Linked DNA regions of Homo sapiens: all the other regions are linked to region 1. The links are contacts of gene promoters, found by promoter capture Hi-C in blood cells and fetal thymus (Javierre and others, 2016). All regions are on one chromosome and are shown on one strand. The core of a region is centred on a gene start or on the middle of the fragment in contact, and the rest is flanking DNA. Distances in the headings are between cores, read along the strand shown.

The links. Contacts are between HindIII fragments. The CHiCAGO score rates a contact against its expected background, and 5 or more counts as called.
Region 2: a fragment that was not itself captured here is called in contact with the fragment with the promoter of CDH1 in region 1 in 1 of 17 cell types (megakaryocytes); the score reaches 5.1 in megakaryocytes.
Region 3: a contact is called between a fragment that was not itself captured here and the fragment with the promoter of CDH1 in region 1, in 1 of 17 cell types (endothelial precursors). The highest score is 5.2, in endothelial precursors.
Region 4: a fragment that was not itself captured here is called in contact with the fragment with the promoter of CDH1 in region 1 in 1 of 17 cell types (erythroblasts); the score reaches 5.3 in erythroblasts.

What each region holds. Positions count from the first base shown.
Region 1 is chr16:68,735,264-68,740,834 of GRCh38, forward strand. It overlaps CDH1 (cadherin 1), which reads left to right and starts at 2,029. Exons shown (of 16, transcript NM_004360.5): 1 at 2,029-2,200; 2 at 3,034-3,148. The coding sequence starts at 2,153. RefSeq lists an enhancer at 1,050-1,194, a cis regulatory region at 1,122 and a silencer at 2,075-2,144. The HindIII fragment of the contact is 3,737 bases long and covers 1-3,670 here.
Region 2 is chr16:69,094,624-69,100,694 of GRCh38, forward strand. It overlaps a transcript of HAS3 not described here. Among named protein-coding and RNA genes, the nearest start is that of HAS3, 8.0 kb to the right of the region's middle. RefSeq lists enhancers at 3,189-4,014, 5,439-5,940. The HindIII fragment of the contact is 3,339 bases long and covers 2,859-6,071 here.
Region 3 is chr16:68,419,698-68,425,397 of GRCh38, forward strand. The region is part of intron 1 of SMPD3 (sphingomyelin phosphodiesterase 3); the gene reads right to left. Among named protein-coding and RNA genes, the nearest start is that of SMPD3, 26 kb to the right of the region's middle. The HindIII fragment of the contact is 1,723 bases long and covers 2,354-4,076 here.
Region 4 is chr16:69,129,068-69,135,289 of GRCh38, forward strand. DERPC (DERPC proline and glycine rich nuclear protein) reads right to left here and starts at 3,521. Exons shown (of 3, transcript NM_001002847.4): 1 at 3,417-3,521. CHTF8 (chromosome transmission fidelity factor 8) reads right to left here and starts at 3,521. Exons shown (of 4, transcript NM_001039690.5): 1 at 3,417-3,521. It overlaps UTP4 (UTP4 small subunit processome component), which reads left to right and starts at 3,582. Exons shown (of 17, transcript NM_032830.3): 1 at 3,582-3,622; 2 at 4,391-4,551. The coding sequence starts at 4,393. RefSeq lists silencers at 3,101-3,250, 3,271-3,630. The HindIII fragment of the contact is 686 bases long and covers 908-1,593 here.

The sequences.
Region 1 (5,571 bases), core at 779-3,278:
AAATGAGCTGGTCAGTGGCTGGGCACGGTGGCTCATGCCTGTAATCCCAGCACTTTGGGAGGCTGAGGCAGGTGGATCATCTGAGGACAGGAGTTCAAGACCAGCCTGGCCAACATGATGAAACCCTGTCTCTACTAAAAATACAAAAATTAGCCAGTCGTGGTGGCGCATGCCTGTAATCCCAGCTACTCAGGAGGCTGATAGAGGAGAACCGCTTGAACCCAAGAGGCGAAGGTTGCAGTGAGCCAAGAACACACCATTGCACTCCAGCCTGGGCGACAGAGCAGGACTCCGTCTCAAAAAAAAAAGAGCTGGTCAGTGTCAAATGCTTAGCACAGAGACTGGCACAGTAATCTTCAATGTCCAGCACCTATTGTTACTATTTTTTTTTTTTTTTTTTTTTTGAGACAGAGTCTTGCTCTGTCGCCCAGGCTGGAGTACAGTGGCGCGATCTCGGCTCACTGCAAGCTCCACCTCCCAGGTTCATGCCATTCTCCTGCCTCAGCCTCCCGAGTAGCTGGGACTACAGGCGCCCACCACCACGCCTGGCTAATTTTTTGTATTTTTAGTAGAGACGGGGTTTCACTGCGTTAGCCAGGATGGTCTCAATCTCCTGACCTCGTGATCTGCCCGCCTCGGCCTCCCAAAGTGCTGGGATTACAGGCGTGAGCCACCATGCCTGGCCCTATTGTTACTATTTTTACCCCTCACTTCTGTACAGAGCATTTATGGCTCAAGAAACATTTGTCATTTTAATTGTATGGGAGTCCCACAACAGCATAGGGAGACATTTCTGATCATTATTCCCATTAGGAGGGTGGAGAAACTGAGGCTTTGGGAGGTGGTCCTGACCTAGGGAATCAATTTGCTGACTCACTAACCCATGAAGCTCTACAGTTAAAAAAGACTAGATTAAAAAATGAGAACTCAGTAAAGGGGCTGAGGCAGGAGGATCGCCTGAGTTCAGAAATTTGAGATCAGCCTCGGCAACATAGTGAGATCCCCTCTCTAGAAAAATTTTTTAAAAAATTAGGCCGCTCGAGGCAGAGTGCAGTGGCTCACGCCTGTAATCCAACACTTCAGGAGGCTGAAGAGGGTGGATCACCTGAGGTCAGGAGTTCCAGACCAGCCTGGCCAACATGGTGAAACCCCGTCTGTACTAAAAATACAAAATTAGCCGGTGTGGTGGCACACGCCTGTAGTCCCAGCTACTCAATAGGCTGAGACAGGAGAGTCTCTTGAACCCGGCAGGCGGAGGTTGCAGTGAGCCGAGATCGTGCCACTGCACTCCAGCCTGGGCAAGACAGAGCGAGACTCCGTCTCAAAAAATACAAACAAAACAAACAAACAAAAAATTAGGCTGCTAGCTCAGTGGCTCATGGCTCACACCTGAAATCCTAGCACTTTGGGAGGCCAAGGCAGGAGGATCGCTTCAGCCCAGGAGTTCGAGACCAGGCTGGGCAATACAGGGAGACACAGCGCCCCCACTGCCCCTGTCCGCCCCGACTTGTCTCTCTACAAAAAGGCAAAAGAAAAAAAAATTAGCCTGGCGTGGTGGTGTGCACCTGTACTCCCAGCTACTAGAGAGGCTGGGGCCAGAGGACCGCTTGAGCCCAGGAGTTCGAGGCTGCAGTGAGCTGTGATCGCACCACTGCACTCCAGCTTGGGTGAAAGAGTGAGACCCCATCTCCAAAACGAACAAACAAAAAATCCCAAAAAACAAAAGAACTCAGCCAAGTGTAAAAGCCCTTTCTGATCCCAGGTCTTAGTGAGCCACCGGCGGGGCTGGGATTCGAACCCAGTGGAATCAGAACCGTGCAGGTCCCATAACCCACCTAGACCCTAGCAACTCCAGGCTAGAGGGTCACCGCGTCTATGCGAGGCCGGGTGGGCGGGCCGTCAGCTCCGCCCTGGGGAGGGGTCCGCGCTGCTGATTGGCTGTGGCCGGCAGGTGAACCCTCAGCCAATCAGCGGTACGGGGGGCGGTGCCTCCGGGGCTCACCTGGCTGCAGCCACGCACCCCCTCTCAGTGGCGTCGGAACTGCAAAGCACCTGTGAGCTTGCGGAAGTCAGTTCAGACTCCAGCCCGCTCCAGCCCGGCCCGACCCGACCGCACCCGGCGCCTGCCCTCGCTCGGCGTCCCCGGCCAGCCATGGGCCCTTGGAGCCGCAGCCTCTCGGCGCTGCTGCTGCTGCTGCAGGTACCCCGGATCCCCTGACTTGCGAGGGACGCATTCGGGCCGCAAGCTCCGCGCCCCAGCCCTGCGCCCCTTCCTCTCCCGTCGTCACCGCTTCCCTTCTTCCAAGAAAGTTCGGGTCCTGAGGAGCGGAGCGGCCTGGAAGCCTCGCGCGCTCCGGACCCCCCAGTGATGGGAGTGGGGGGTGGGTGGTGAGGGGCGAGCGCGGCTTTCCTGCCCCCTCCAGCGCAGACCGAGGCGGGGGCGTCTGGCCGCGGAGTCCGCGGGGTGGGCTCGCGCGGGCGGTGGGGGCGTGAAGCGGGGTGTAGGGGGTGGGGTGTGGAGAAGGGGTGCCCTGGTGCAAGTCGAGGGGGAGCCAGGAGTCGTGGGGACGATCTTCGAGGGAAGGAGAGGGGCATCCGTAGAAATAAAGGCACCTGCCATGCCAAGAAAGGTCGTAAATAGGAGTGAGGGTCCCGGGGATAAGAAAGTGAGGTCGGAGGAGGTGGGAGCGCCCCTCGCTCTGAGGAGTGGTGCATTCCCGGTCTAAGGAAAGTGGGGTACTGGAGAATAAAGACATCTCCAATAAAATGAGAAAGGAGACTGAAAGGGAACGGTGGGCTAGGTCTTGAGGGGGTGACTCGGCGGCCCCCTCCCGGGAGTTCCTGGGGGCTCGGCGGCCGTAGGTTTCGGGGTGGGGGAGGGTGACGTCGCTGCCCGCCCGTCCCGGGGCTGCGGGCTGGGGTCCTCCCCCAATCCCGACGCCGGGAGCGAGGGAGGGGCGGCGCTGTTGGTTTCGGTGAGCAGGAGGGAACCCTCCGAGTCACCCGGTTCCATCTACCTTTCCCCCACCCCAGGTCTCCTCTTGGCTCTGCCAGGAGCCGGAGCCCTGCCACCCTGGCTTTGACGCCGAGAGCTACACGTTCACGGTGCCCCGGCGCCACCTGGAGAGAGGCCGCGTCCTGGGCAGAGGTGAGGGCGCGCTGCCGGTGTCCCTGGGCGGAGTAGGGAGGGGTTGGAAAGGGGCCGAGAAATTGCACTCCCACACCCCTGGGTTGCAATGGGCAAGCTCCCTCCTTGGCTCAAACGACACCCCTTGGAATTTACGCAGATTTGGGGATCCAAACGTTTACGACTGAACACTGTGGTGGAGGGGGTAACCCTGCCTGGTTGTTGACTATGTTATAAAGAAGAGGAGGTTGAGGGCACTTACTAGAAGCCTTCGTATTTCTCTTATTGCCCTCAGCACTGTAGAGACAGTCTCTCATTTCAGACTGCAAAAACCTGGTGGGTGGGAAGGCCTGGCAGGAGTATTCCCGTTTTACAGTTGAGCAAACCGAGGCTAAGAGAGTGACGTCCACTTGCTCAGGGTCAGCAGAGCAGATATCTGAACTGGGATCTGACTCCCAGGCCCCATTAAGCACCATCTCTGGGATGACTGAAGAGCAGCCCTCTCTTGGTTACTGGGCTGTGGCTTTTGTTTACAGATATAAAAGCTTTTTTTTTTTTTTTTTTTTTTTTTTTTAAAGACAGGGTCTTGCTCTGTTGCCCAAGCTGGAGTGCAGTGGCACAATCATAGCTTACTGCAGCCTCCATCCTCTGGGCTCAAGTGATCCTTCCCATCTCAGCCTCCCTAGTAGCTGGTTATCATGGGCATGTGCCACCACACCTGGATAATTTTAACTTTTTTTTAGGCTGGGCGCAGTGGCTAACGCCTGTAATCCCAGCACTTTGGGAGGCCGAGGTGGGCGGATCACAAGGTCAGGAGTTCGAGACCAGCCTGGCCAACATGGTGAAACCCCATCTCTACTAAATAAAAATATAAAAATTAGCCGGGCATGGTGGCGTGTGCCTGTAATCCTAGCTACTCAGGAGGCTGAGGCAGGAGAATTGCTTAAACCCAGGAGGCAGAGGTTGCAGTGAGCTGAGATAGTGCCACCGCACTCCAACCTGGGTGACAGAGCAAGACTCCGTCTCAAAAAATAAATAAAAAATAAATTTTTTTTTAGAGACAGGAGTCTCTCCATGTTGCCCATGCTGGTGTTGAACTCTTGGGCTCAAAGGATCCTTCTGTCTCAGCCTCTCAAAGTGCTGGGATTGCAGGCCTGAGAGACTGTGCCTGGACCAAAACATCTTGATACAGGTACTGTTTCCCCCAAGGAATAATGATTTTTTTTTTTTTTTTTTTTTTTGAGATGGAGTTTTACTCTTGTTGCCCAGGCTGGAGTGTAATGGCGTGATCTCGGCTCACTGCCACCTCTGGCTCCCAGGTTCAAGTGATTCTCCTGCCTCAGCCTCCTGAGTAGCTGGGATTACAGGTGCCACCACCATGCCCAGCTAATTTTTTGTAGTTTTAGCAGAGAAGGGGTTTCACCATGTTGGCCAGGCTGGTCTGGATCTCCTGACCTCAGGTGACCCACCTGCCTCAATCTCCCAAAGTGCTGGGATTACAGGCATGAGCCAGCACGCCTGGCCAGGAATAATGATCTTTTTTTAAAAAAAGCATGGTAGTTCTGACTCAGGATGAAAATGCATACACCCAATGTACTTCTAGGCCTTATCGTTGTGACAATCTAGAGTTTGCTTTGTTCCACTTGACTGTTGTCCAGGGAGCAAGGGAAGGGGCTAGTTTCTCTTCTGGTTTCACTGAATCCCAAGTGCTTCCTTTATATCAAACCACTTTCTCCTCTCTCATGATTTTACTTGATTGGGTATCACAATAAGAGGCATTTTTTTTTTAAGAGAAATCACCCACAATTCCCCTGAGGGAACACCTCCACTGTGTCATTCTTCCAGTCTTTGACCACATGAATCTTTAGCAATCACGCTGTTGTCTTTACATTTTTTTTTTGAACTTTGGAAGTCATTCGAAGTTTTTTACAGAGAAACTACAGCTCGACTGATGAAGTATATTTGCTCTGTGTGCTCTAGAGCTTTCTATTGGATCAGAAGTTATCTCTAACTCCTGGGCTCAAGTGATTCACCCGCCTTGGCCTCCCAGAGTGCTGGGGATTGGATATTTTGATGTCAGTGGGCATTGAGGAGTGGCTTCTCGGGGAAGGCAAACTTGATCCAGTCTTGGAGAGCAAGGCAGGGGCTAGAAACAAGCTTGTATCTGAGCATGCGTCTGGGGTGTCCCAGTGCTAAGGCTGGTGACTTTGTTTTCCTGCACCAAGATATTTGGTAGCACCAAGGGTGGGTTGGTCTGGTTTTTATTTCTCCCTTCTAAGCTCCTGTGTTTGACCAATAATATTATTACATATTAACACTAATATGTTAATAATTAATAGTGACACGTATTCACTTTTGCCTCAGACTCTGGGGCAAGTGCTTCACATATTTTACCTCATTTAGTCTTCACTAGAACGTTAGGAGGGTGGGCACTGTTATTCTTC
Region 2 (6,071 bases), core at 3,278-5,777, 360 kb after region 1:
CTCTAGAGACTATCCTTCCCCATCCTTTGGGTGGGGAAATCCCCACAGTGCAGAAGTTCTGTCCTTTAGAAAACAAAGTGAATCCAAGTTGTTTTGACAGTTCTGTCCTCCTACAGACAAGGGCTGGCTGGGTTTTTCCCAGTTCTGGAAAAAGGCAGACAGCAAACTGAGTGAACAAAACGGTTGTTGAAATCTAATTCCAGGTGTATCGGAGAGACCTGGGGACTCATCTCGTCCATCTGATCCTGTTCCTCTGTTTCTCCCCGGCTCTCCTTCCTAATTTCCAGCTCAAATCCACATCCTTCCTTCTTTTATTTTGTTCCTTCTGGCTTGACAGCTCACTAGTCCATTGTTAACTTTTTTTTTTTTTTTTTTTTGAGACAGTGTTCGCTCTGTCACCCAGGCTGGAGTGCAGTAACACAATCTCAGCTCACTGCAACCTCTGCCTCCCAGGTTCAAGGGATTCTTGTGCCTCAGCCTCCCAAGTAGTTGGGATTACAGGCACGCGTCACCACACCTGGCTAATTTTTTTTGTATTTTTAGTAGAGAGAGGGTTTCGCCATGTTGGCCAGGCTGGTCTTGAACTCCTGGCCTCAAGTGATCCACCAGCCTCAATCCCTCAAAGTGCTGGGATTACAGGCTTGAGCCACTGCACCCAGCCCATTGTGAAGTTTTTAAGGTTAGTAAATTAAACAGGTGCCAACACCGTGGCAGGCCTGGTGCTGGAGGAAAATGGACAGACACTCTTCTTACGTGCTCTAGAGCTCACCGCCTGACTGGCTGGCTCTTGACTGGCCTCTCGGTGCCAGAAATGCACTTGTAAGTCTCCGCTGAGGAGAACCCTCGGGCTGTGTTCTCAACCCTGGATGCAGAATAGAATTGCCTGGGGAATTTTTTTTTTTTTTAATCAAGCCTGGGGTCCACCCCCAGTGATTCTGATTAAATTGATCTGGGATGGGTTCCAGGCATTCATGATTTTTAAAAGCTCTACAGGTTTTCAAAGTCTACTGTGCAACACCCTGCCAGACATGGGAATCACTACATTGGCTTATCTGATGAGAAAAGAAAATCAGGGAGTGGGGGTCCTAGCCAAAAAAAAAAAATTAACTGCTGCAAGTAGGACATATTTTGGCAGGGGGTCCCCTCCAACAAAGGCACCGATGGGAATGGCCCCTACCCTCAGCTTCGCTCTAACTGCTTTTATAAAGGGTCTAACTTTGGACCTCCTGTGTGACAGTGACTAATGATGTCTTTCATCAAGAAAGAAGACAAAGCAGAAGTGCCAGCACAATTAAGAATTGTGGGGCCATGGCTGGGCGCGGTGGCTTACGCCTGTAATCCCAGCACTTTGGAGGCTGAGGCAGGTGGATCACTTGAGGTCAGGAGTTTGAGACCAGCCTGACCAACATGGTGAAATCTCATCTCTACTAAAAATACAAAAAATTAGCCGGGCACACTGGTGCGTGCCTGTAATCCCAGCTACTCAGGAGGCTGAGGCAGGAGAATCGCTTGAACCTAAGAGGCCGAGACTGCAGTGAGCAGAGATCATGCCACTGCACTCCAGCCTGGGCGACGGAGTCAGACTCCGTCTCAAAAAAAAAAAAAAAAAAAAGAATTGTGGGGACATGGCTGGGCACGGTGGCTCACGCCTGTAATCCCAGCACTTTGGAGGTGAGGCAGGTGGATCACTTGAGGTCAGGAGTTTGAGACCAGTCTGGCCAATGTGGTGAAACCCTGTCTCTACTAAAAATATTTTTTGACAATTAGCCAGGTGTGGTGGCACACGCCTCTAGTCCCAGCTACTTGGGAGGCTGAGGCAGGAGAATTGCTTGAATCCGGGAGGCGGAGGTTGCCGTGAGCAAAGATCACACCATGCATTCCAGTCTGGATGACAGAGGGAGACTCTGTCTCAAAAAAAAAAAAAAAAAAAAAAAAAAAAAAGAATTGTGGGGCCAGGCTTGGTGGCTCACACCTGTAATCCCAACACCAATTTTTTTTTTTTTTTTTTTTTGGAGACGGAGTGTCGCTCTGTCACCCAGGTTAGAGTGCAGTGGCGCCATCTCGGCTCACTCCAACCTCCGCCTCCCGGGTTCAAGTGATTATCCTGCCTCAGCCTCCCGAGTAACTGAGACTACAGGCAAGCACCACCACGCCCAGCTGATTTTTTGTATTTTTAGTAGAGATGGGGTTTTATCATGTTAGCCAGGATGGGCTCAATCTCCTGACCTCGTGATCCGCCCACCTCAGCCTCCCAAAGTGCTGGGATTACAGGTGTGAGCCACTGCGCCCAGCCTAATCTGAGGTGGGAAGATCGCTTGATCCCAGGAGTTCGAGACCAGCCTGGGAAACATGGTGAAACCCCATCTCTACAAAAAAATACAAAAAGTAGCCGGGCATGGTGGCACGTGGTCCCAGCTATTTAGGAGGCTAAGGTGGGAGGATCCCTTGAGCCCGAGAAGTTGAGGCTGCAGTGAGCCGTGATTGCACCACTGCACTCCAGCCTGGGCAACAGAGCAAGACTGAGAAAAAAAAAAGAATTATGGTTGATTTTATTGTAACAAGAGCCAAACAAGCCGGGTGTGGTGGCTCATGCCTGTAATCCTAGCACTTTGGGAGGCCGAGGCAGGTGGATCACAAGGTCAGGAGTTCAAGACCATCCTGGCCAAGATGGTGAAACCCCGTCTCTACTAAAAATACAAAAGTTAGCCAGGGATGGTGGCAGGCTGAGGCAGAGAATTGCTTGAACCCAGGAGGGAGAGGTTGCAGCGAGCCAAGATCAGGCCATCGCACTCCAGCCTGGGTGACAGAGCGAGACTCTTTCTCCAAAAAAAAAAAAAGAGCCAAACAAATTCGGAACAAGCTTACCTTAAGTGTAGACAGGGATTGTGTTCCACCACTCTGGGAAGGAGTGTGCACTTGTGTGTCCATTTTGTGTCACGTAACTACATGTGTGTGGTGCAGACACTTGCGTGGGAGTAGGCTTACAATGCGCACAGGAGAGAACCTCTCCCTGGGACTTCCCTGGGTGGGAGGACATTGCTGCTGACATCACCAGGCTTGGAAATCCTTTCTTCAGGGAAAAGCCTCCTTCTAGGGGAATCCTAGAGCCGTATTTAGCATGTGCCTCCCCCTCTTGCCCAGGACCACTGTGGTCCTCAATGAGGAGGTGAGTGTGGACTGCCCCAGCTGGGGTGTGCCAGCCAAGCCATGTGCCTTTTTATAATTCCCTCAAAGGTGCCCAAAGAGCTGGCATAGCTCTGCAGACTCCGCCTTTCCCTGCTACATTCTCTCAAAGGAACAGTGGGAGGAATTTACATAAAGGAAATCACTCTGGTTTTGGCTACCACTAATCCTAAATCCTGGCCCTCCCACTTTATTTACTGCTTTCACTGTAAACTGAGGTTGTGAAACCTTTTTCACATGAATCCATGTATGATAGAGACTGCACCCCACCCTGCCCGGGCTTATAAGGAAATCCTGCCAGGCGCGGTGGCTCATGCCTGTAATCCCAGCACTTTGGGAGGCCGAGGCGGGAGGATCACGAGGTCAGGAGATCGAGACCACAGTGAAACCCCGTCTCTACTAAAAATACAAAAAATTAGCTGGGCATGGTGGCAGGCACCTGTAGTCCAAGCTACTCAGGAGGCTGAGGCAGGAGAATGGCGTGAACCCGGGAGGCAGAGTTTGCAGTGAGCCGAAATGGCGCCACTGCACTCCAGCCTGGGTGACAGAGCAAGACTCCGTGTCAAAAAAAAAAAAGGAAATCCTGTGAACTCAGAATTTATCTTCATTTTTTTTTTTACAACATGGGGTCTCTCTGTGTTGTCCAGGCTGGTCTCAAACTCCTGGACTCAGGCAATCCTCCCACTTCAGCCTCCTGAGTAGCTGGGACGACATGCACATGGCACTGTGCCTGGCCTTAAAATACCTTTTTATTACAAAATTGTTTTACTTATTAATAGAAATTTCAGAGAAAAAAAATCCATTGTTCTACCACTTGATTTTAATATCAAACCTATTAATATATTATCAAACCTGATTTTTTTTTTTTTTTTTTTTTTTTTTTAGTTTCACTCTTGTTGCCCAGACTGGAGTGCAGTGGCACAATCTCGGCTCACCACAACCTCCGCCTCCCAGGTTCAAGCGATTCTCCTGCCTCAGCCTCCCAAGTAGCTGGGATTACAGGCATGCACCACCATGCCCAGCTAATTTTTTATTTTTAGTAGAGACAGGGTTTCTCCATGTTGGTCAGGCTGGTCTCGAACTTACGACCTCAGGTGATCTGCCTGCCTCTGCCTCCCAAAGTGGGATTACAGGTGTGAGCCACTGCGCCCAGCCTGAACCTGATCTTTTTTTTTTCTTTTTAAGACAGAGTCTCGCCCTGTCGCCCAGGCTGGAGTGCAGTGGCGCGATCTCGGCTCACTGCAAGCTCCGCCTCCCGGCTTCACGCCATTCTCCTGCCTCAGCCTCCTGAGTAGCTGGGAATACAGGCTAATAAAAAATTAGCCCAGCTAATTTTTTGTATTTTTAGTAGAGACGGGGTTTCACCGTGTTAGCCAGGATGGTCTCGATCTCCTGACCTTGTGATCTACCCGCCTCGGCCTCCCAAAGTGCTGGGATTACAGGCGTGAGCCACCGCGCCCGGCCAAACCTGATCTTAATGATCAAACCTGACCTTGATATTTGGGTGAACTTCTCACCTGCCTTTAATTCATTTTTTTTTTAGATGGTGTCTTGCTCTGTCGCCAGGTTGGAGTGCAGTGGCGCAATCTCGGCTCACTGCAACCTCTGCCTCCCGGGTTCAAGCGATTCTACTGCCTCAGCCTCCCGAGTAGCTGGGACTACAGGTGCACACCACCATGCCCAGCTAATTTTTGTATTTTTAGTAGAGGTGGGGTTTCACCATGTTGACCCGGATGATCTCGATCTCCTGACCTCATGATCCACCCACCTCAGCCTCCCAAAGTGCTGGCATTACAGGCGTGAGCCACCGCGCCCAGCCTAATTCATACGATTTTAAAGAAAACAACAACATAAATGCAGGTATGCATACATAACGATTGTGTCTCCTGTTCGTTACTTAACACTGCATCGTAGGTGTCTGGAGTATTCCTCCATTGTCCTCATGAACGTGTTTTTTTAGTAGCTGCACAATATTCCACTAAAAAGATAAGTGTTGAAAATTGCCTTCTGGGTTTTTTTTTTTTTCTACACTCACCTAGGGGAGGGAGAGAAAAGAAAGATGGCTGGGAAGAGCTTTTTCTGTTTAGGATTCTGAGAAAAGCATCTCCAGGTCTGATTTGATATTCGGTTATCGGTCTAGTGTGCCCCTCCTAATCCTGACCTTCAAGCCAGCATAAAAGAACCTGGCCCCTTAGCAGGGGCTGACCGCTTTGCCTCCAGCAGAGCAGAGGCCCCTTAATTTGAAATGAAACGATTCTTCCATCAAAGGAGAGGGAGACTGGAGTTAAAATCGAACCATTCTAACGGCAGCACAGGAAAGTCCTTAAGCCTGCTTCTTCAAACATAGCACCTGGAAATGGTCCTGATTACACAGTGCTTGTCAGTAAGAGGGGAAAGTTATGAAAGAATAACTTTGTTTGGTGGTAGCTGCCTTGCTGTAGTCAAGGCACACACTTTCCACTTTGAATTATGTATTAACTAGCATTGCAGCTGAAGCCGCCTTGAAGAGAAAGCCCTGTTTGGGCAGCTGCGGGAACATAACCTGCTACTATTCGGGAGCCATTTTCAGTTCGCCCTCCTTAGCTTCAAGAGGTTTTCATGGTGGTCAGCCCAGGGAAAGTGGATGGGGATGAAACTTGGAGGGTTGGAGGCAGCCTGGGTAGCTTGGCTGCCATCCTCCATTCTGTTTTGCTTTGCTGGAAGTGATGGGCTGGATGCCAGGGAGGAGCAGTGAAGCGTTAAGGGCAGAGGGTGAGGGGGCAGCCTATAGAGCTTGGATGCCCCTCCTCCCGCCTCCCCTGCTCAAGCCACTCACTAGGAGACAGCGGAGCAGAACCGTGGGACGATGGAGCACCTGGGTCCTGGCAAGGTTGCTCTGCAGCTTCCGG
Region 3 (5,700 bases), core at 1,965-4,464, 310 kb before region 1:
TGCCCCAGGGCCCAGCTTCCATGAACCCCATGTAATGATGATGATGAAGATGACAACCATAATGAAGCCTTACTCCTAAAATGAGTATAATGACACTAATGATAAAGGCAGCATCAGAGAGTGGGGGAGAGAACAGACTTTGAAGCCAGACTGCCTGAGTTCCAGCTCCACCTATCACTAATTGTGGGAACTTGGAGGTCACTTTGTTCTTGGGCTCCCTCATCTGTAAAGTGGGGATCAGAGTAGCTGATTATTGGAACATGTAGTATCCCGAATAGCTATTGCTTTTTTTTTTTTTTTTTTAAGAGATAGTGTCTTTCTTGTCACATGGCCTGGAGTGCAGTGGTGTGATCTTGGCTCACTGCAGCCTCAACCTCCTAGGCTCAAGCAATCCTCCCACCTGTCTCCCAAGTAGCTGAGACCACAGGCATGCACAGGTTTTGCCATGTTGGCCAGGCTGGTACCGAACTCCTGACCTCAGGTGATCCATCTGCCTCAGCCTCCCAAAGTGCTGGGATTATACGTGTGAGCCACCATGCCCGGCCATTATTCTTATTACTAATATCATTACTATAGGCACCTTTCATATCCATTTCATTTGAACTTCGCAATCCTATAAGGAAAAAGGTACAATTGTTATTGTCCCACTTTGCAGATGAGGAAATTGAGGTTCAGAGAAGTTGAGGGACTTGTCCAAAGACACTCAGCCTGGTACGGAGCCTATATGATCTTCCAGTTGGCTCCCTCTGGCTAGGCTAATAGCCTGGTTACCCAGGCTTAAAAGGGATGCTTCACCATTACCTGACAGTCCTCCCATTATCCCTGCCCAGCAGGGAGGGGCGTTTTATTGCCTCAACTTAATGCATGGGAGATAAGGGCCAGGTGAGTTAAGTGGCTCCTAGGCAGGCCTGCCTCCTCCAGCTAAGCTGCTTTTGAACCAGCTGATCAGGACTACTCTTCAAAATCGCAATTTAACTGCTGGGCTGCATCCATTGTTCTGTGTGTGGAGGCAGCTGCCCCATAGGCCACCTCACTTGGTGCTGTCACAGTGATTAATAAGGATATTCTGTGTTCACATGAGGCCTCTCAGTCAAGGCCTCAGAGCACTTTGTAAGCATTAATTAAGCTTCATGATGGTGACTCAGGTAGGTGGGGGCCCTGAACCCACTTCAACATGTCTTCAGCTAATGCAGAGAGAGACCAAATCGCTCCCTCAGCAAGCTATGGCCTTCAGCTCATCCAGGTCCTAGTGGGCATTCTCCATCCCTGGGGTTTGGCCAAAATCATTTGTGGAGAAAAGACTTCCCCTCTTGTCCTTCCAGACTTCAGAACAATAACCAGCACCCAGAAGCCACTCCCATTTGAGTCAGGACCAGGCCAACAGCTCTGATGGGCTGGGTTCTACCTGATGCTCATTCACTGGCCCACCTGGGTTCACAGCCAGAGACCACCAGCATGTCGGCACCAACTGCCTCTGTACACAGGGGCCCCTGGAGTCAGGCCCGTCCCTGCAACACCATCTGCACAGTATCCCCATCCTCCCTCATCTGCTTCACCCCCATTCCCAGCTCTGCCCTCGCACATCTGCCACCTGCTTTCTGTGGCTCTGTCTGGCGCTTGTGGGGAATGGCAGAGACTGTGTAACTCAAGGTAAAGAGCTTGAACCTCCACCCAAGGATGAGGGGGAGCCACAAAAGGGAGAGACGTGGTTATATGTGTGCTTTGGAATGACAGCACAGGAAGATAGGTATGTGGGGTGGGGGATGAAGAGACCAGAGGCAATGGAGCCAAAGCCAGCATGGCAATGAGCCAGGGGGACAGACTTATGACCAACCTGGCAGTGTTTGTGCAAACCACTCCCCCAGTACACCTGAAGAAGCCATGTCCAGTAAAACAATTAAGTCCAAGCCCCACTCCCTCACTCTACCACCTCCCAGACACATCTCTTTGACTTGGCTAGGGAATGAGGCCTGATACTCATAGCTCGGCCTCCATTCCTAGCCATTGACATTCCAGGGCACCATTGAGTTCGACCCATTAAAGAGTCTAGGGGTGGGCATTGTTTTTCTTCCCTACTTGCTTGATGAAACCAAGGCTTAGGGGTCCAGTGGCCTGCCTATTAGACTTGGTAGTAGCCCCTGAAAGATGTCCATATCCTAATCTCCAGAACTGGTGAATATGCTACTCTATGTGGCAAAAGGAACTTTGCAGATGTGATTAAGTCAAGCATCTTGAGATGGGGAGAGAAGCCTGGATTATCCAGATAGGCCCAACGTAACGACAAGGATCCTTTTGAGAGGGAAGCAAGACCGCTGAAGGTGGAAGAAGAGGATGACAAGGAAGCAGAGGCTGAAGCTTTGAAAATGGAGGAAGGAGCAAGGAGCCAAGGAATATAGGCAGGCTCTAGAAGTTAGAAGGAAACAGATTCTCCCCTAGAGCTTCCCGAAGGAACACCAGCCTGCTGATGCTTTGATTTTAGCTCAGTGAAATTGATTTTGGGTTTCTGACCTCCAAAACTGTAAGATAACATATTCCTCAGCATCACCAAACTACAGCAGAAATCCTCAGAAGGAGGTGGAATTTATCCTAGGTGAGGAAATATTGTGATTCTGCAGAGGCCCTCATGGAATCTGAATTAACCTCTTCCCTTGCCCAGAACTGGGAAAGCCATGGATGTTGGGCCTGGTTCTCATTTTGCTGTGATCTGGGCAGGTGCTTGGACAAGATAGACGTATAAGGCCCCTGAGCAAGAAGCTGGAAGAATGTGCAGGAAACAGAGTATAGTAAAGTGCTCAGAGGGAGGAAAAGAAGGTTTTGCTGTTGTTGAAATAAAAAACAGTACAGGCCCAGCTGCTTGGAGGCCTCCAGTCAGGTGAGAACTGGTGGTGAAGAATTCCACCTCCCACTGAGGGGTTGTTTAGTTTGATGATGCTGAGGGTTTGGAGAAAAGGGGAGGGAATTTTCTCCTTAGCCACAGATCTGAGATGACTGCAAATTGCTTCCCATGCAGTCTCCTTATTTTAACCTCCAGGGAATAGTGGGCGAGTTTCTGCCTCCCCTGGGTGTACCTGCTGCAGAGAAAGAGGTGGCGTGTAGGCTGCTGGGAGATTCTGGGCTGGGCTGCACTGGTTCCTTCGTTAAAGTGAGGAGGTTAATGTGAGGATCTCTGAGGTCCTTTTCAGCTAGAATATTGGAGTCTCCTTGAAAAGCACCAGTTTCCTTAACCATTGAACACATATACAGCCCCAGCCTGATTTAGAGGATTTTAGTTGTAATGGTAAACCTTTCCACAGTTCTCAGCGGGGGCTTCACAGTCATTTTCAAAGTTATTAGCTCAGTGATCTTCACAACAACCTAAGAGACAGGCACTGGTATTACCTTATTTTACAGCTGAGGAAACTAAGGCTCAAAGAGGTGAAGTAATTGGTTCAAGTTAGCATCAGAGTCAGGATTTTGACCAAGGTTTTCTGGCCTCCTTGTCACCTCCTTTATGGCACAAAAGGGATCTCAAAGATCATTCCCTTCTTGTGACCTTGCTCTGAGTAGCTGAAGATGCTTCCTGGGATTCCTCAGAGAGTTACTTACTAGCTGCTATGGTTTGAATGTGTCCCCCAAATTTCTTGTGTTAGAAACCTAATCTCCAAATTCATATATTGATGGCATTTGGAGGTGAGGCCTATGGGTGGTAATTAGGATTAGTTAAGGTAGTTAGGGTGGGGATCCATGATGGGGCTGGCGGCTTTATAAGAGGAAGAGAGATCTGAGCTGGCATACTCTCTATCTCTCTCCATCTTCTACCATATTATGACACAGAAAGAAGACCCTCATCAGATGCGACCCCCTTGATCTTGGACTTCCCAGCCTCCAGAACTGTAAGAAATACATTTCTTGTCTTTCTAAATTACCCAGTCTCAGGTGTCCTGTTACAGCAATAGAAAATGAACTAAGACACCAGCAAACTGGGTTGAGTCTTTTTCTTCCTACTGGTCTTGTTCCTGAACCCCAGATCTCTGCTTCAGGCTTAGCCAAGGAGCTTAGGACCACCTCATTTTTTACCCACCAGCAGGTACTTCCTAAGCTTGGCACTATTCCAGACCCCGTGGGGCACTCTGAGCATGAAAGAACAGACTGGCACAAGTGAAACAAGTTATGGAGGCTGATGTGGGTGGTTCTGGACCCCAGCAGTGGCTGAGGAGGCGGTGATGTCACCCAGCAGAGCAGTGCTGGGGAGATGGAAGGTCTGGAGGCCTCAGTGGCGGTGAACAGTCCACAGTGAGGGTGGACATGGCCCAAGGTGACCAAGGGCTCGGCCTGGGGACGTCACCTGCCCAGTCAGGCCCTCCCTGCACAAAGCCCAAGGAGTTAGCCAATGGCCAGGGCAGTCTTAGCCAGGGGGCCTAGGTGGTCCTAGGGTGCCAGAGGGTCCTAGGCCCCCTGGCTAAGCCTGCCCTGGTCACTGGCTGTGGGAACAACAGTTTCTCCTGAATCCTCTCTTTGGCCAGGAGTACTGCCATGTCCTTACTCCTGTGTATACATGGCAGGATGTAATTATCCTAAAGATACCATCTTGAAGCTTTGAATCCTGAACTCCCAGCCCCAGCATTAAGTCTGCCTTCTGCCTTCTTCACTTGCCCCTCCACAATGGGGCTGCAGGGGCCGTAGGGGGAATAAGCATCAGCAGAGACCCTTGTGACTCCTGGGCACTGCCTGCAGAGCTTTGGTCCTGTGTGCAAGGGCCTGTGGATCATGGTCGAACAGTCAGACCCTCAAGTCATGTTGGGCCTGACTCCACAGTGACCTGGGAAAAGTAATTTTACTTATGAACCCCAATTCTCACATCTGTAAAATGGAGGTAATCATAGTAGCTGCATCATACAACAGCTGAGGGGATGAAATGGGAGAATCCACACAGAATGGTTCAGCGCCACGCCAGGCATCAGCAAAGTTACTGTCTTGATGACTCTATTCTCTTGCAAAGTTACTGTCTTCATGACTCTATTATAAACCAGAAGAATGTTTTCTCTTTTTTTTGAGATGGGGTCTCACTCTGTGACCCAGGCTGGAGTGCAGTGGCATGATCTCAGTTCACTGCAACCTCCGCCTCCTGGGCTCAAGTGATCCTCCCACCTTAGCTTCCTGAGTAGCTGGGATTACAGGTGCACATCACCATGCCTGGCTAATTTTTTGTATTTTTGGTAGAGACAGGGTTTCACCAAGTTGCTCAGGCTGGTCTTGAACTCCTGGTCTCAAGTGATCTGCCCACCTTGGCCTCCCAAAATGCTGCGATTGCTGGTATAAGCCACTGCGCCTGGCTATATTATAAACCAGAAGAATGTTCTTAAGAAAACAGTCCCTAATAAAAGATGCAGAAACCTCCTCCCAGGAAGATGTGGAAGAGAGGCCTGGGCCTCAGCTGATGGGATGGTGCCTGTGGGTTGGTAGTCATGGCACTCACTCCCACTTATCAGATAGTAGGGCTTACAAGGGCCAGAATTAGAACCTCTGGCTTTAGACCTTTGGTTGTCAATTCTCTGTATATGGGAAATCAAAACAGAACTTCATGGATGTCTCTGGAGGTGCACCGAAGTCAAGGCTGGAACTGGTGAGGGAGAATCTTTCCTATTCAAAAGAAATAGACTGCTTGGGATGGGTGAAGGCAGGGGCAAGAGCCCTGCATGCCAAGAGGGTCTCCTCCAGCTG
Region 4 (6,222 bases), core at 1-2,500, 390 kb after region 1:
AACAGACAAACTGAAACAAAACAAAAAAAAAACTGGCAAATCAAAGCACCACCATGATTTCTTAAGAAAAGCCCAGGCAGAGGCCGGGTGCGGTGGCTCACACCTGTAATCCCAGCACTTTGGGAGGCCGAGGCGGGCAGATCACGAGGTCAGGAGATCGAGATCATCCTGGATAACACAGTGAAACCCCCTCTCCAGTAAAAATACAAAAAATTAGCCGGGCGTGGTGGCAGGTGCCTGTAGTCCTAGCTACTCAGGAGGCTGAGGCAGGAGAATGGCGTGAACCCAGGAGGCAGAGGTTGCAGTGAGCCGACATCACGCCACTGCACTCCAGCCTAGGCAACAGAGCGAGACTCCGTCACAAAAAAAAAAAAAAAAAAAAAGGAAGAAAAGTAAAGTCCAGGCAGAACATTATTTTTATAATACAAAAGGCTTCATTTCTCACAAGCTAGCCTCGTTCACTTATCTGTATCCTCTTATTTCACCCTGACACCCTATGCTTTTAGCAAGGTCTTCTCACTCCCATTTCACAAATGAGGAAACAGGCTTAGAGGAGCTAAATGTTAACTGGTCACACAGCTACTTAAGTGGAGAGCTGGGATATGAACCCTAACCCCTCCACAATCTGGCCCCTCTTGCAGTTCTCCTCACACAGCCCCCTCCTGTAAAGCACCTCTGTATGATAACTTCCCTTGCTTTACAAATATTAGCCTCGTTCTCACAGCATCTCTTACAAAATGGCAAAGTAACCTATGGAAAGACCTTGTAACTTGCCACCAAAGTATTATATCTGTGGGGTAGGCAGCTAAAAACAAAGAAGCAGCTTGCTTTTTATCATACCCAATTGAGATGTTTCAGTTTTTGAAACTTTTAGAAAAATCTACTCAATGCCACCTCTAGGACGCAAAGCTTTACCCTCTGCTCCTGAATGTGAAAGTCAAGAGAATAGAGGACATTCTTTGTCAAGTATTCATTTTAATCTTCCACAGAATTTAATTCTTACCCTCTGGTCTCTGAATTGTTAAATATTAAATTGTTAAAAGATTACTGTCTTACAGAGAACAGAACAGCCTGAGCAATGATCCTCATAATCCTTCAAAATAAAATGTGGCAGAAGAAAGTGTGATATGTATCCAATTAAACCGAACATATGGCTTATAGCAAAAAAGAGGCTTTGACTCAACGGTTTAACCTCAATACAAATAACTAAATTTTAATAAAGCTAAACAACGTTTTAGAAATTTTGTTTTTTTTTCAAACAGGAAACCAAGCCTTTAAATTCTCAACCCTTAAACATTCTTTTCTAAACTGGGGTGAAATCAATTATTTCAGAGTGTAAATATTCACAATTTTCTATTTTTTGCTAGGCCAACAGTTGGCATTTATTGAGCTTTTGTTTTTTGATCCCAGGGTGGATACTTTGTTTACGAATATAGTGAAGCACTCACTTGTCATACAGACCTGGATTCTGTGATTTTGCCACCTATCCCATATGTGACAGTGGGTAGTTTAACCTCACGTGTTTTCCTAACAATACACTGGGCATAAACACCTATTTTGAAAGGCTGTTGCAAGAACGAGTAATGAATGTAAAGCTTTTAGCACATTGTCTGACACATGGTAAGCCTTCAGGGTCAAGCTATCGATTTCCCAGAGAAAGGTGGCATTTTCTTAGTATTCATCAAATAGAATGTCTTAATACTACACTGTGTTAGCATATTAATGTTTATAACGGACTAAAGCATTCTACGAAAGCAGCAGGTCATCAGAATAAAATCAAGTTTTCATAACAGTAGAATTCAAACATGGCAGTTGTGGTTCACCAAACTGCTTCAGGGATTAAGTTCTGGAAGGTAATTTCTCTAAATATGATGACTATGTCTCTATGTGCCTTTCTACCAAGTGAACAACTCAGAACGTTTTACATACAACCGAATACAGATTATTTTTATTTGTAGTGTTATCGTGGTTTTGTAACTGAAGGGGACAGGTCTATACTTTTGAAGGGGATCTTGTCTCTTGAAAGGCTTATGTTACTAAGTCTAAAATCCTGTTTCCAAATGAGAATCTTGCTCCCCTCCAAAAAGGGGCTTATGGAGGGTTGGTGGAATTGAATGCTTCCAAACTTTACATTAGTGAAGTGTGTTCAAAAACGTGTGTGGATGCTATGCATACACGTGATACTTCCCATCACATTTTAGGATTCCCACGTTGGAGGGAATCAATTACTGGTATTTGTAGCAATGGGTGGAAAAGATGGCTTCAGTCGATCTGAGTTACTGCAGTTTTCTCCATCTTCTGCTACTCTGCAGCCCCATCTTAGCCTGTCCTCCTCTTAATGGTACGGCCCCCTGTACTCCCCCAAACCCTTTCCTTTCTAGCCCGGCGTAGAGTCTCCCTCTGTGCTCTTCCTCCCACCCACCCCCATCTTCTCCACCCACTCCCTCTCGGCCCCCTCCCACCCTTTCTGCTAGAGCTACAAACACTTCCTATTTCTAGTCCCACCCACTTTCTGGGACTTCTCAATCCGCTTCCCCCCTCTTCTCCACCCCCCTCCAAATTACAAGCTGTTTTAACCCCTTTTCCTGCCTCCCAGGGAAACTATTCTTTAAACCGCCTTCCTCCACACCACCCACTGGAGTGGTCTTCCAAACCGTTCACCCTCTTCCCAAAGATTACTCTTTAAACGTCCTTTCTCTACCACCCTCGTTCTCCAAATTGTTCCCGGTTCTCAAGTACTCCACTCCTCCAGGACCCCACCCCACTCGTCTCTCGGCTTCCCTCCCACAAAAGAACCTGGAATGACTCTCCAACCACCCTTCCAATTACCTCTCCCAGAAGCCTCCCCCCTCCACGATTACAAATGTTACCTGGAACAAAACCTCACGGTCCTAACCCCCACCCCGAACTCCCCTTTCTGCTCTTCCCGCTACTTCCTAGGTTCCAGTTCTACTCCGCTCCCGCAAGCATAGCGGGCTGGGCTCCCTCCCAACCCCGGGAAGAGCCCCTTCCCGCACGTACCTCGAGATTCCGGCCCTCGCCGCCCCCTTCTCCGTCCTCCGCCCGCGCTCGGCCACCCTTTCCGCCCTTCTCCCGCTCCGCCCCGCTCGCTCCCTTCCTTCCCTCCGCCTTCCGTCTCCACACCGCTCCCTTCCCCCACACTCCTGGCCCTCCCACCCCGGAGGCCCCTCCGGGCTTGCCCCCACCTCCGCGCCGCCCTCCCGCCGCCCTCCCCCTTCCCGGCCACCCCTCCCCCGCCCGCGCTCCCCGCCCCTCGGCTCGCCATTCTTCTCTCCGAGCCGCGCGCCCCGCCCGGCCCCGGCTCCCTAGCTTCCCGCTCCCTCGCGCCCTCGCCCCCAATCCCGGCTCGGCCCTCGCTCCCCGCAGCCTCCCGTGCCCCCCGCCCGCGGCCTGACCTGCAATGGCGGCCGCCGAGCGCGGCGCCGCGCGGCCAACGGGCGACAACCGAACCTCCCGCCGCCGTCGCCGCCGCCGCGAGCACTGCCTGCGCACTTCCGACTATGCGCCAGGAGCACTTCCGGGGCAGAGCCTGAGAGCGCGCGCGCACGTGGGGCCGGGGCGGAGAGAGGCGAGCACCGGGAAGGGGAGCGTGGGGCCGCTGGTGAGTTGGGGAAGGGGCGTGGGAAGCGGCTGCGAGAGCTGGGGGGGTCTTACAAGGTGGCCGGCCCAGGGTCGGCGTCCGGCTGAGCTCCTTGTCCCGAGGGTCTCCTTGTCCCGAGGCGGGGTGGGGGCTACTCTGTAGACTCGGGGAGAGGGAAGGGGAGGCGAAGACCGCGCGCGCCTCAGACGCCCCGGCCCGACCGAACGCGCTTGCTCTGTCTGCGGGTTCCTAACCTTGAAGCTAGGCCAGTGAGGGGCGAACAAGACCTGGTCTCTACTCTCGGCCAGTATATATGTTGGCGGGCGTCGGGGGGACGGGGTAGGGTAAGTGACAGACGTCAGACCAGGCAGCCAGATTAAGTCAAACCCTGTCGTTTCTTCCTCAAGAGGAGCTCGGTTCTGCCTGCCCCATCAGCCTCACTGTCACTACCTCAGTTTAGGTCTGTTGTTTGCAAACTTAGCAATAGAGTTGAGGAGAGATGCTTGCTAAAATGCGGATTCCTAGGCGCCCCGAGATAGGAACTCTGGAGCTATGGAGTAGGACCCTTTTTGATTTTTTGCTGAAGCCTCCTTATTATTCAAGCCATTCTGAGCTTTTGAAGATTGAGTAATTCTTGTGGGGGGCATTGTTAGCAGCCATTTGGAAATGAACTTCAGGGAGATGTTGTTGGAGCCTTCCAGCCAGAACAGTGATATTAAGGAACTGAATACTATATGTGACATACTGCAGTTAACATATAGCAATAATGACTCTCTTTTCGCCCCCTAGGAATGGGTGAATTTAAGGTCCATCGAGTACGTTTCTTTAATTATGTTCCATCAGGAATCCGCTGTGTGGCTTACAATAACCAGTCAAACAGATTGGCTGTTTCACGAACAGATGGCACTGTGGAAATTTATAACTTGTCAGCAAACTACTTTCAGGAGAAAGTAAGTCATTTGGGAGTCTGATATGGTGTTTTGATGTTAATTTCTTCTGAAGTTCAAGAAGCTTGTATGTCTTTTATAATCAAACTGATTGAGTGACTTCCTAGCCCCTCTGAAGTTGCTTAGAACTACCAAACTTCTGAGATCTCCTAACTGATAAGAGAAGCTCAGTTTCAATCTGTGTAATGTTGATTAGAAGGGTCCTACCTAGAAATGTGACATCTCACTGCCTGTCATTGGAAACTGAGGTTTGCTGGATCTTTTGGACACAGGAAGGGAAATTGTTGGTATATCAGTCTCAACACCATTGCAGCTTTGGTAAGCAAAATTTCCTGCAGGGAGTATCAGTACTGTTTCATTGTCAATTCAGAAAAAATGATAACACGTTTTAATATCAGAAACTTTTTGGTGATGTGGGAAGATGGATTCCAAAGTTCATCTGTCTGAGAGAATGTAGACCTACATGTCTACATTTGGGAGTAAAGGAGATTTAAAATTAGGTAAAATGTCCTTTGGGTGTATGCAGAGGTCTATTAGTCCTTTTTCTTCTCCCCTCCAAGGGCACTGACTAGTGATTTTCTTCGGGTGCAACATCTTAGTTCATGTTGAATGACTGTTATGTACTGGGTGCTGTGATATAAATGAGTAGATGGGCAAATGAGTGAATTCAGTGCCCAGCAGCCTGGTACCTGGAATTTAGGCATTCTGTAAATGTTTCTCGGTGAATGAGTGGCAAATACTGGGCACTAAGACAAATGTCAGAGGCCCTAACTTTACGGAGCTCAAAGACCAGTGGGAGAAAGATAAGTGTACAGTTTCCAACCTGTAAAATAAATATGATAAACCGAAACACAGGCATAGAACCTTCATTGAATTGCCTTCAGGGAAGGCAATTCAGAGAATTGCCTTCCCTGAGAGGTGGGTTTAGGAAATGTGGAAAGGGATGATTTACTGAGCTCACCCCTGAAGAACTAATCAAAAGGTAAAAACTACAGGACCACCACAAATGGGTTACATTCTGTGGTATGAAGAACATGCGCTGGCGTGTGCTTATTGCATCCTGTGATTTTCTTTTTTTTTCTTTTTCTTTTTTTTTTTTTTTTTGGAGACGGAGTCTTGCTCTGTCACCCAGGCTGGAGTGCAGTGGCGTGATCTTGGCTCACTGCAACCTCTGCCTCCCTCTCCTGCCTCAGCCTTCCAAGTCGCTGGGATTACAGGTGTGCCACCATGCCTCGCTAATTTTTTTATTTTCATAGAGACGAGGTTTCACCATGTTGGCCAGCCTGGTCTCGAACTCCTGACCTCAAGTGATCTGCCCACCTCAGCCTCCCAAAGTGCTGGGATTACAGGTGTGAGCCCTCATACCAGACTGATTATCTTTTTCTTGGTCTTGTTCTTCTTCTTTTTTTTTTTTTTTAACAGTCATGGCCATATTATGATTTTTCTGTTTGTCATTTGTAACAGTTATAACTATATAATTTGTGTGTTTGTTTAATGTCTTTCTTCCATGCTGAACTTCCAATTTTATGAGGATAGGAACCATGTCAGTGATACTCACATCTGCATTCCCACCATTTATCAAGCGCCTCCTACAAAGCCACTGCTTAATGTTTCTTGAATGGATAAGTCAACCATTCCTTACCTAGTGTTCCTTATTTTCTTTTCTCCTTCATC